3 separate regions of the Homo sapiens genome follow, and regions 1 and 3 are each linked to region 2. The links are contacts of gene promoters, found by promoter capture Hi-C in blood cells and fetal thymus (Javierre and others, 2016). All regions are on one chromosome and are shown on one strand. The core of a region is centred on a gene start or on the middle of the fragment in contact, and the rest is flanking DNA. Distances in the headings are between cores, read along the strand shown. Region 1 holds the start of POFUT2 (protein O-fucosyltransferase 2). Region 2 holds the start of PCBP3-AS1 (PCBP3 antisense RNA 1). Region 3 has its middle 25 kb from the start of LINC00205.

Region 1 (3,657 bases), core at 71-2,570, 550 kb after region 2:
AACAATAGGCAGATATAAATTCCATTTGCTAATTTTTTTAAATGCTGTGTCTTGGTTCATGAAAGACATTGGTCTGTGGTTCTACTGTCTGGTGATGTCTGACTTTGCTATCAAGGCAATGCTGGCCCATACATCGAGCAGGGAAGTGCCCCTCCTCGTCCATCGTCTGAGTGGCTGGATTCCTATTATTTCTTCTCTAAGTAGGATTCACCAGCTTGGCCCTCTGGGCCTGGAATTTTCTGTGTGAGAAAATTTGATAACAAATTGATCTCAAATTTAACAGATAATAAGCATTAGTATTTTCTTTTTTGGTAACTGGCATCCTTCAAGAAATTCGTCCAATTATACCGTTTTGGGGGCTGCCTGCACTAGAGTCAGCGTGGCGTCCCCTCAGAAGGCCGGGTTTGCCAGCGCCGCGCCCCAAGCCAGGTCGGTCGGCCAGTGCTGGTGCCCTCGGGGAACAGCGGGAGCTGCCTGGAGGCTGCGGGGAGCGGCGGCGGCGGGCACGCACCTGGCTCCCGAAACCAGACCTTTAATAACGCCTCGCAGAAGGGGCGGGGTGGGAGGTTGGCAGCGCAGGGGCGGCAGCCCCGGATCCCCCCAGGTCTCCAGATCACCCCATCGAGCCCCGCGCCCTAGCAGCACAGTCCCTCCAGGGCTCCTTGGAGGGCCAGGCCTCAGCCCGGGTGCCCCCTCGCCGGGGCTCCAGGGTTGGGGGCACCCAGGAGGCCGCAGGTGTGGAGCTCGACGGCGCCCCCCGACTAGAAACCCAGGCTCTCATGCGCGGCTCCCGCCCCGACCCCAGCTCCAGAGGGGCGAGAGCACCCGGCGCCGACCCCGTCTACGGACCCCCTCCTCCGCCCCGCCCCCGCCGTCCAGCCCTCCCGCCCCTACCAGCCCCGGGCCTCCTCCCCACGGACCCGCCCCGCGCCACCAGCCGTCAGCCCTCCCGGCCCCCAGTCTCGCGTACCCTCCCCACTGGCCTGCAGGGTCCACCGACTTCCCGACCCCGGGACCTCCCGACCCCCGGACCTCCCGGCCTCGCGGACCCTCAGGAGCCCCTGCGTGGGCTGCGCCAGGGCGCCCGCGACAGCACCGCCGCGAACCACAGCCACGGCCTCCGGGTCTGCAATGGAACCTCTAGCCGCTGCGGTCAGGAGGGCGGAGACTCTGCGCACGCGCAGTTCCCCCTCCCGCCCCTGCTTGCCGGTGATGGCGCATAACGCATGCGCGGGGAGGGCGGAGCTGGGCGTTGCCGTGGCTACTGGGAACGCATTTCACGGGGGCGGGGCGTGGTTCCGGGGCGGGGCGCGGCCGCCGGAAGTGCGTGGCCGCCCGGGGCCATGGCGACACTCAGCTTCGTCTTCCTGCTGCTGGGGGCAGTGTCCTGGCCTCCGGCTTCTGCCTCCGGCCAGGAGTTCTGGCCCGGACAATCGGCGGCCGATATTCTGTCGGGGGCGGCTTCCCGCAGACGGTAAACGCGCGTCCACGGTGCCAACGCTGGGGTTCCAGGACCGGGCAGGGTCAGAGGATGGGATGGGGGCGGGGCGGGGTCAGGGGCCAGGGAGATGGGATGGGGTCAGGGGCAGGCCCACGGGATGGAGGGTGGTCCGGGGCCAGGGAGATGGAATGGAGCGGAGTTATGGGGCAGGGGCCAGGGGGATGGGATGGAGCGGGGTCAGGGGGCAGGGGTCAGGGGAATGGGATGGGGTCAGGGTTCTGGGGCAAGGAATGTGGCGGAGTAAGGGGCCAGGGTGATGGTATAGGGGCAGGGGGCAGGGGCCAGGAGGGATGGGATGGGGGCGGGGCAGGGATCAGGGCGATGGGATGGGATGGGGGCGGGGCAGGGGCCAGGGTGATGGGATGGGATGGGGGCGGGGCAGGGGCTAGGGCCAGGAGGGGTGGGATGGGATGGGGGCAGGAACGGGGGCCCGAGGGATGGGATGGGGGCGGGGCGGGAGCCGGGGCCAAGAAGGATGGGACGGGGACGGGACAGGGGCAGGGGCAGGGGCAGGGGCCGGGGCCGGGCTGGAGTCTGGGGGATGGGATGGGGCGGGGGCTGGGGGCAGGGTCGGGCCAGCGGGTTGGCTGTAGTCGAGGCTGCGTCACTGCGGCCCGGGTCTGCAGGCGGGGTCGTCTGCGAGGCCCGGGGCGCAGCCTCGGGAGCCCAGGAAGGGGGCCGGGTTGCTCAGGCTGAGCGTGGGCTGGCTCCGGAGGCCCCTGCAAGTGACACGGGTCCAGGCCTGGGTGTGCGGAGCCGGGAGTCAGTGCCGGGCGGGCGCTCCGCAGTGAATTCTCAGGGCCAAGACGAGCTTCGCGGCCGCCCTGTGGCTGTGGGATCTCCAAGCGGACCCCGGGAGGGGCCTGGACGCAGAGGTGTGCACGGCCCCTCGTGGCGTTCGCAGGCCTGGGCGCTGCACGCAGCTTCACTCGCGACGATGGGAGTATGGAAAACCAGCGCAGAGCAGGGAAAGGAGAGCGCCAGGGACAGGGTTTCTGTAGCCCTTGGGGACTTGTCTGTGCCTTGGGGACTTGTCTGTGCCTTGGGGCGCTTTGTGTCCTTCCTCTAGGGCAGTGATCTTAAAGTGTGTCCTGGATCTCTGAGCTTTTGTAGCCGTTTTAATAGTAGTACCAGAGTATTATACGCCTTTTTCACTTCTCATGAATGCACTGTGGAGTTTTCCTAGAAACCACTTGATCTGTGATGTCACAACAGATTGAATGCAGAAACGGGTATGGGAATCCAGCTGTCACCAAACCCAAAAGAGATTTGCAAAAATTAAGAACATCATCACAGTTCTTCTAATTCATTTTTTAAAATACACTTATTTTTTATTTAAATATGTGGTTTTTGTTAACATGTAATGGCTTCTTATTTTTAGCTGAATTAAATACTTGTAGCTTTAACGTCTAACATAGGACGTATCAATAGACATAGTGCACATAACCAGCCGTCAGTCATTGTTTCCAGTGTAAAGGGGTCTTTAAACCAAACAGTTTGAGAACCATGTGGGTACTGATTCTTGGGTTCCAGTCACTGGGATTCCTCTGCCTTAGTGTTGAACTATTGCTAATTGTTAAAACGATGTTAGCATGTCTGCTGCTTCTGCTTACAGGCTCCGTAAGTAACTGGTCATAGAGAAACAGGCCACTCACTGCCTTCACAAACTAGGAACCATTGTTAAGTGCCTAGAGTCGGGCCACGCGCTGAGACTTGTGAGCAGTCGGGTTTTCCGTGCAGAAACCTCAGCATTTGAGACCTGTGGTCCTCCTTCTCCCTGCTCAGGTATCTTCTGTATGACGTCAACCCCCCGGAAGGCTTCAACCTGCGCAGGGATGTCTATATCCGAATCGCCTCTCTCCTGAAGACTCTGCTGAAGACGGAGGAGTGGGTGCTTGTCCTGCCTCCATGGGGCCGCCTCTATCACTGGCAGAGTCCTGACATCCACCAGGTCCGGATTCCCTGGTCTGAGTTTTTTGATCTTCCAAGTCTCAATAAAAACATCCCCGTCATCGAGTATGAGCAGTTCATCGCAGGTGAGGCCGAGCGGCACGCTGGGAGGCCGTGGTTGCTTAACTGGGGCCAGGCAGTCATTTCTAAGGTAGACATCAGGTTGGGCTTACGATTGCATCCAGCCTCACCAGCATCCTCCAGTG
Region 2 (3,448 bases), core at 342-2,841:
CCTAGTGGATGAGGCAAACGTTATTCCACATAGATGAATCCCAACTAATAAGTACAGAAAGAACAACACAATTAGAAAATCACCGTTCTGCAGCCCCTAATGTGTACTGCATCCAGGCAATGACCATCAATGAATATTGACAGCAAGCTGCAAGGCTGGTGGGGAACCCAGCAGTGGCGGATCAGGCTGACCCCCTAAGCTCAATCCTCAGTCTCAGCACCAGTGAAGGAGCGGCCAGACCACACGCCTCATCATGCCATGCGGTGCAACGTGCAGTGCCACCTAGGAAGCTCGCTCGCCTCACAGGAAAAATAAATCTGAGTGGAATCGCACCTCAGACCTACCAGGGCAAATATGGGGTTGCAGGTGGGCTCTGCACCATGCCAGAGGAGGCAGCCAGCCAAATCCAGAACGCAGGCATTCCACACAGCCGCTACCCCCAAGAGGCAGACAACCCAGGGCTACAGGTAGGCCTTCGACATGAAACCGCCCGCAGGAGAATTTCCACAGGCACGTAGCCATGCCCTATAACCTGAAGCTAGGGCGCCGTGGCCTGTTCTCACAGCGCCATCCCTAGGCTCCAAGAGCCAGCATCCTGGGAGCTCTGCAGCGCTGTGCTGCTGCCTGTGGCTTGCACACAGATGTCACATAACATCATTTCCGCTGGAGGCACATGCCTGCCCAGATTAAAGGGAGGGTCACGATCCCCTCCCTGGCGGGAGGTGCATCAAAGTCACAGCACAAGAGCATGTGGAACGGGAGATACAGACCACAGTGAAACGTTATTTACATTCACTGCATTGGCAAACATTCAGAATGTTGGTGGACTGTAGATCATCCGTGGCGCTAACACGCTGCTGGGGGATGGGAATTGGTACCCGCGCTTTGAAACAAAAACTGACATGGTCCTGAAAGTTCCTGAAAGTTCACCTTTCACAGACTTTATGATGCAGCAATTCCACTTCCTTAAACCAAAAACACCTCATGTGTGCACCAAAAGAAACACACAGGAATGTCCACGGAAGCATCACTCACAATGGCAAGCGAGCCGCATGACCCTGCTGGAAAAACAAATAAATGATGCCTATTCACACACTGGAACACTATGCAGCCAGGCACACAAACTGCAGCTCTGCCCAGAAACACATACCAACCTAAGACACCTTGTGTGTGACTAAACAGAACAGGTTTGGGAAGTCTATGTAGGGACTGATGTCACTTTCTAAGAGTTCAGAAACAAGCAATCATGTGTAATAAAATAAAATTATTTTAAAGAGAAGAGATGAGAAAACAAAATGCAGGATCACGGTAAAGAAGAGGAAGCACCCACGGCAGCATGGGTCATCTCGCTTAGCCTGGTCCTGGGGTCACGGCTGTTCATGAGAAAGCTATGCTCCGCAGCTCACGTTACGTACGTGTCATATGCTAATTCTCATGTCACAACATTTTAACGAATATACTGGGAAGTGCAGCCAAGTACTGCAAGCAGAGGAGCCGGCACACGTGATCCCAGACCAGGCAGCACTTACAAAGGATGGCAGGAAGGCCAAGACGTTGTCACGGAGATGAGGCCCAGCAGGGCAGGAAGGCATGACCAGCAGGCCTGGCTACAGGCAGCAAGCACCAAACCCCATTCCAGATGCCAGGAAAGGCACACACAGGCCTGGCGCAGGTGGGCTGTCTTCTGGCCGCTCCCTGGGTGGACTGGTCTTGGAGACTGGACGGTAAGGACTGGGGAGAGTCAGGGTCCACTTTGGAGGCAGAATTGGGAGGGTTTGAATCAGATGAGTAAGGAGGTACCAGGAAGGGGTCCAAGGTTCCTTCTGTTTGTATCCCCCACAGGTCTGCTGACATCGGCCCCCAGAGAGGGGCAACCCACGGCCAGGAAAGCAGACCAGGCAGCCCCTCTGTAAGGCTGAAGGAGGAGCTACTGTGGGTGGCCTGGACTCCTTGTCATCTCGGGCCCCACGTTGCCCCTCTGGTGATCAAGGACTCACAAACTTCTTGCTCATATTCTGAAAGATGGGCAGCTTTTTGTTTGGTGAGGTTACCATGCCTGCGGCCACAGCTTCCCCTGTGGAACTGAGATCCAGACCCCGCCAGGCCTGGGGCCTGTTCCCCTGGGGCTGCCGTGACACTGGCTTTCTGCGCTCTCCTCTCCCCAGGGCATAAGGCCCAGACCTCCTGCGGGTCAAGCTCAAGACCCTGGGCCCAGGGTCTGCCTGTCCCTGGCCCAAGCTGGCAGGTGTGGCCTGGATGAAAATGGCTCAGGAGAAGCTGATCTGCTATGCAGCCTAGTCTGCCAGAGCCAGGGTCCAGGCCCATGGGCAGCTCACAGGGATGTGGGGCCACGCCCAGGCTCTGTCTTCCTCACGCAGGGGCCATGTGGCAGGACAGGCCCAGCACACCATGTGAGTGCCCAGAATGCTGAGGCATATTAGGTTTGAACCCTGGAACTGTGTTTCTGCCTCTCTGACCTCTCAGATGCACAGGGACTTGCAGAGGGGCTCCTTAAGGTGCTCCAGGTCAGTGCCGGCTGCGGCCAGGAGCTGACGGCCGGCAGGGAGGTGTAGAGACCCGGGGCCAGTGTTAAAGGTGCTACGGCCACTTGGCTTTGCTGTGACCCCCGTGCACAGGAGCACCAGACTCCTCTCTGCCAACAGGCCACAGAGCAGCTCCGGTGCTGCTAAGCCTCCGGAGTGGGGCGAGTCTTGTGCAGGAGGCTCCCAGGCAGGTCCCGGGGCATGAAGTTTAAACAGGCCCCACCCACACTCCTGGGAGCCTGTGTAGGCCCCGCCCCCGGGGCCCAGGGCAGACGTGGGCTATTCTCTGTCTTGGCTCCCCTCATCTGGCTCTCACCTCAGGAAAAGATGTACCTAACTCCTATGATTCCTACATCCTCATAAATGAACCCACAGGAACCTGTGGCTCTGTGAGTGGGGAGCAGCCCCCGTGTCAGCAGAGGCTGCTGCGGCGTTCGCGAACCGGCCTCCCAAGCTGCCCGCGTCATTCAGTGGCGCTGCCCACCCCGAGCACGGGTGGACACCGCGCAGAGTGACATTTCCAGCAGCGCTTTGAGGGACTCACGGTGCCTCCCCATTCCTGCTGCCGCAGGCCTCCCGAGCTGGGTTGTGCACTCAGCGCTCAGAAGTGGGCATTCCTGGGCTCTGCCGAAAAGCGTGCCAGGTGAACTCGGAACTCACCTGCTGCTCTCCTCTAGAGGCAGCTCCGAAGTCTGCTTTGTCCTTTTAAAAACCTTTCATACCACCTCCCTCGTGGGCCCCCTCTGAGAGACGCCTCTGATTTTTCAGTGGTGCTTCCTTTGGAGTCTATTGGCCTACTTCCATCTGCACGCCATCTCACAGGTGCTGCTGCCTCTGAGGCGCTGGGCTGCACCCTCACAGTGCAGCACTCGTGGACGTGGTGGCCTGGGGAGAGCAGGGCTGTG
Region 3 (3,400 bases), core at 610-3,109, 520 kb after region 2:
CTGTTCCATTGGTCTATGTGTCTGTTTTTGTACCAGTACCATGCTGTTTTGGTTACTGTGGCCTTGTAGTATATTTTGAAGTCAGGTAGCATGATGCCTCCAGCTTTGTTATTTTTGCTTAAGATTGTCTTAGCTATGAGAGCTCTTTTTTGGTTCCGTATGGATTTTTAAATAGTTTTTTCTAATTCTGTGAAGAATGTCAATGGTAGTTTAATGGGAATAGCATTGAATCTATAAATTGCTTTGAGCAGTATGGCCATTTTCATAACATTGATTCTTTCTATCCATGAGCGTGGAATGTTTTTCCATCTGCTTGTGTCCTCTCTGGTTTCCTTGAGCAGCAGTTTGTAGTTCTCCTTGAACAGGTCCTTCACTTCCCTTGTTAGCTGTATTCATAGTTATTTTGAACTCTATGCAAATAAACTGGAAAATCTAGAAGAAATGGATAAATTCCTGGGCACATACATCCTCCCAAGACTGAACCAAGAAGTTGAATCCCTGAATAGACCAATAACAAGTTCTAAAATTGAGGCAGTAATAAATGGCCTGCCAACCTAAAAAAGCCCAGGTCCAGATGGATTTACAGCTGAATTCTATCAGAAGTATGAAGACGAGCTGGTACCGTTTCTTCTGAAACTATTCCAAATAATTGAAAAGGAGAGACTCCTCCCTAACTCATTTTATGAGACCAGCATCATCCTGATAGCAAAACCTGGCAGAGACACAACAACAAAAAAGAAAACTTCAGGCCAATATCCCTGATGAACACCAATGTGAAAATCCTCTATAAAACACAGGCGAACCAAATCCAGCAGCACATCAAAAAGCTTATCCACCACGATCAAGTCAGCTTCATCCCTGGGATGCAAGGCTGGTTCAACATACACAAGTCAATAAACGTAATCCATCACATAAACAGAACCAATGACAAAAACCACATGATTATCTCAATAGATGCAGAAAGGGCCTTTCATAAAATTCAACACCCTTCGTGTTAAAAACTCTCAATAAACTAGGTATTAAAGGAACATACCTTGAAATAGTAAGAGCCATTTATGACAAACCCATGGGCAATATCATACTGAATGGGCAAAAGCTGGAAGCATTCCCATTGAAAACCAGCACAAGACAGGGATGCCCTCTCTCACCACTCTTTCCCAACATAGTGTTGGAAGTTCTGACTCCAGGGCAATCAGGCGAGAAAAAGAAATAAAGGGTTTCAAATAGGAAGAGAGGAAGTCAAATTGTCTTTGTTTGCAGATGACATGATCCTGTATGTAGAAAACCCTATCGTCTCAGCCCAAAAGCTTCTTAAGCTGATAAACAACTTTAGCAAAGTCTCAGGACACAAAATCAACGTGCAGAAATCACAAGCATTCCTATACACCAACAACAGATAAGCAGAAACCCAAATCATGAGTGAACTCCCATCCTCTGATATCTTATAGTTTCCCTTCCTGTTTAGGCTTTTACTGTCTGTGAAACATGTTTTTGGGAATGAAGTGAGGAATGGGAGGAATGGCTATTTATTACTACCTCAATTTCAGAACTTGTTATTGGTCTATTCAGGATTCAACTTCTTCTTGGTTCAGTCTTGCGAGGGTCTGACTTCACATGTACTGGGGAGTCCATCGCATACCCCTCATTTGAGAAACCGCCCTTATCACGAATGGGACTCCCACAGTTGCGTGGAACTTTTCCTGCCCTCTCAACTCCACTCCGCTGGTTTATTTCTCTATTCCTGCTTCATTTACTCTCGCTTTCTTATGCATGTCTATTAACGCAGCTTGTCCTTCTTAGTTTTTTTTTAAATAGACTTTATTTTTTAGGGAAGGTTTAGGTTCACAGTAAAATCGAGCAGGCGGTACAGAGTTCCCATGCACCCTCTGCCCCACCACAAACATGCAGCCTCCCTCACCATCAACACCCACACCGGAGCGGCCCATTTATTACAAGCCATGAGCCTGCGTGGCCACATTGTCAGCACCCAAAGACCCTGGTCCACACGAGGGCTCGCTCTTGGTGCTCTTCATGCCGTGGGTTTGGACAGATGTGCAATGGCATGGATCCACCACTGCAGTCCCACACAGAGCGGTTCTGCGCCCTGAAGATCCCCTGGGCTCTGCCTGTCTGTCCCTCCTTCCTGAGCGCTGGCGACCACGATATTGCCTTTTCCAGAGTGTCACATGGTTAGAATCACACCGTCTGTAGACTTCTCTGCATGGCTTCTTTCACGTAGTAATACATAGTCAAGGCTCCTGCATGTTTTCTCCTGGCTGCTTGACAGCACATTTCTTTCTAGCACTGCATCATATTCCACTGTCTGGGTGTGCCACGGTCCACCTACCCCTTTCACCTACTGAAGGACATCTTGGTTGCTTCCAAGTTCTGGCAATTATGAATAAAGCTTCTATAAACATCTGCATGGAGGTGATTGTATGGAAATAAATGTTCACTTCCTTTGGGTAAATGCCAATAAATGTAATTGCTAGAATGTATAGTAAGAACACATTTAGTTTTGTAAGAAACTGCAAACTGGCTTCCAAAGTAGCTGTGCTGTTCTGCATTCCCACCAGTGATGAGTGAATGCCAAACTTTGCTCCACACCCTCACCAGCATTCAGTGGTCAGTGTTCTGGAATCTGACTTCCTAACAGGTGTGTGGTGGCATCTCATTGTTGTTTTAGGTGCATTTCTTACAATCTTTACATGTGCTTCTTTGCCATCTGTGCATCTTCTCCAATGAAGTGTCTGTTCAGGTCTTTTGCCCATTTTTTAATCGGGTTGTTTGTTTTCTTACTGTTGAGTTTTAAGAGTTCTTTATATATTTTGGATAACAGTCCTTTATCAGATGTGTATTTTGCAAACACTTTCTTTCAGTTTGTGGCTCATCTTCCCATTCTTTTGACTTTGTCTTTTGCAGGGCAGAGGGTTTTAATTTTAATGAGGTCCAGCTTATCACTGATATTTTTTCATGGATCAGCCTTTGATGTTGTACTTTAAAAACATCACCAAATCCTAAGTCATCTAGATTTTCTCTTGCGATACCTTCTAGGAGTTTTATAGTTTTGCATTTGACATTTAGGTCTGTGATAAATTGTGAGTTAATTTTTATGAAGGTTTTATGGTTTGTGTCTAGATTCATTTGTTTTTTCTGCATGTGGATGTCCAGTTGTTCCAGCACCATTTGTTGAAAAGGCTATCTTTAGTCCATTGCACTGCCTGTGCTCCGGGGTTGAAGACCAAGTGAAGATATCTGTGTGCATCTGTGTGCACAGTGCTCTCCAGAGAAGCAGAGCCAAGAGGATTGGTGGATGGATGGATGGATGGATGAATGGATGGATGGATGGATGGATGGATGGATGGGTTCATGTGTTCGTGCTGTCACTGGGCCCGGAACA

The links. Contacts are between HindIII fragments. The CHiCAGO score rates a contact against its expected background, and 5 or more counts as called.
Region 1: the fragment with the promoter of POFUT2 here is called in contact with the fragment with the promoter of PCBP3-AS1 in region 2 in 7 of 17 cell types (activated CD4 T cells, M1 macrophages, M2 macrophages and 4 more); the score reaches 11.6 in activated CD4 T cells.
Region 3: a contact is called between a fragment that was not itself captured here and the fragment with the promoter of PCBP3-AS1 in region 2, in 1 of 17 cell types (activated CD4 T cells). The highest score is 5.1, in activated CD4 T cells.

What each region holds. Positions count from the first base shown.
Region 1 is chr21:45,285,558-45,289,214 of GRCh38, reverse strand. It overlaps POFUT2 (protein O-fucosyltransferase 2), which reads left to right and starts at 1,320. Exons shown (of 9, transcript NM_133635.6): 1 at 1,320-1,474; 2 at 3,287-3,537. The coding sequence starts at 1,344. It overlaps LINC00205 (long intergenic non-protein coding RNA 205), which reads right to left and starts at 1,163. Exons shown (of 3, transcript NR_026943.1): 1 at 971-1,163. RefSeq lists an enhancer at 1-709 and a silencer at 864-1,393. The HindIII fragment of the contact is 9,019 bases long and covers 1-3,657 here.
Region 2 is chr21:45,834,562-45,838,009 of GRCh38, reverse strand. It overlaps PCBP3-AS1 (PCBP3 antisense RNA 1), which reads left to right and starts at 1,591. Exons shown (of 3, transcript NR_038876.1): 1 at 1,591-1,724. All of the region lies in intron 4 of PCBP3 (poly(rC) binding protein 3), which reads right to left. RefSeq lists enhancers at 364-907, 1,978-2,485. The HindIII fragment of the contact is 12,994 bases long and covers 1-3,448 here.
Region 3 is chr21:45,311,840-45,315,239 of GRCh38, reverse strand. No RefSeq gene overlaps it. Among named protein-coding and RNA genes, the nearest start is that of LINC00205, 25 kb to the right of the region's middle. The HindIII fragment of the contact is 1,100 bases long and covers 1,310-2,409 here.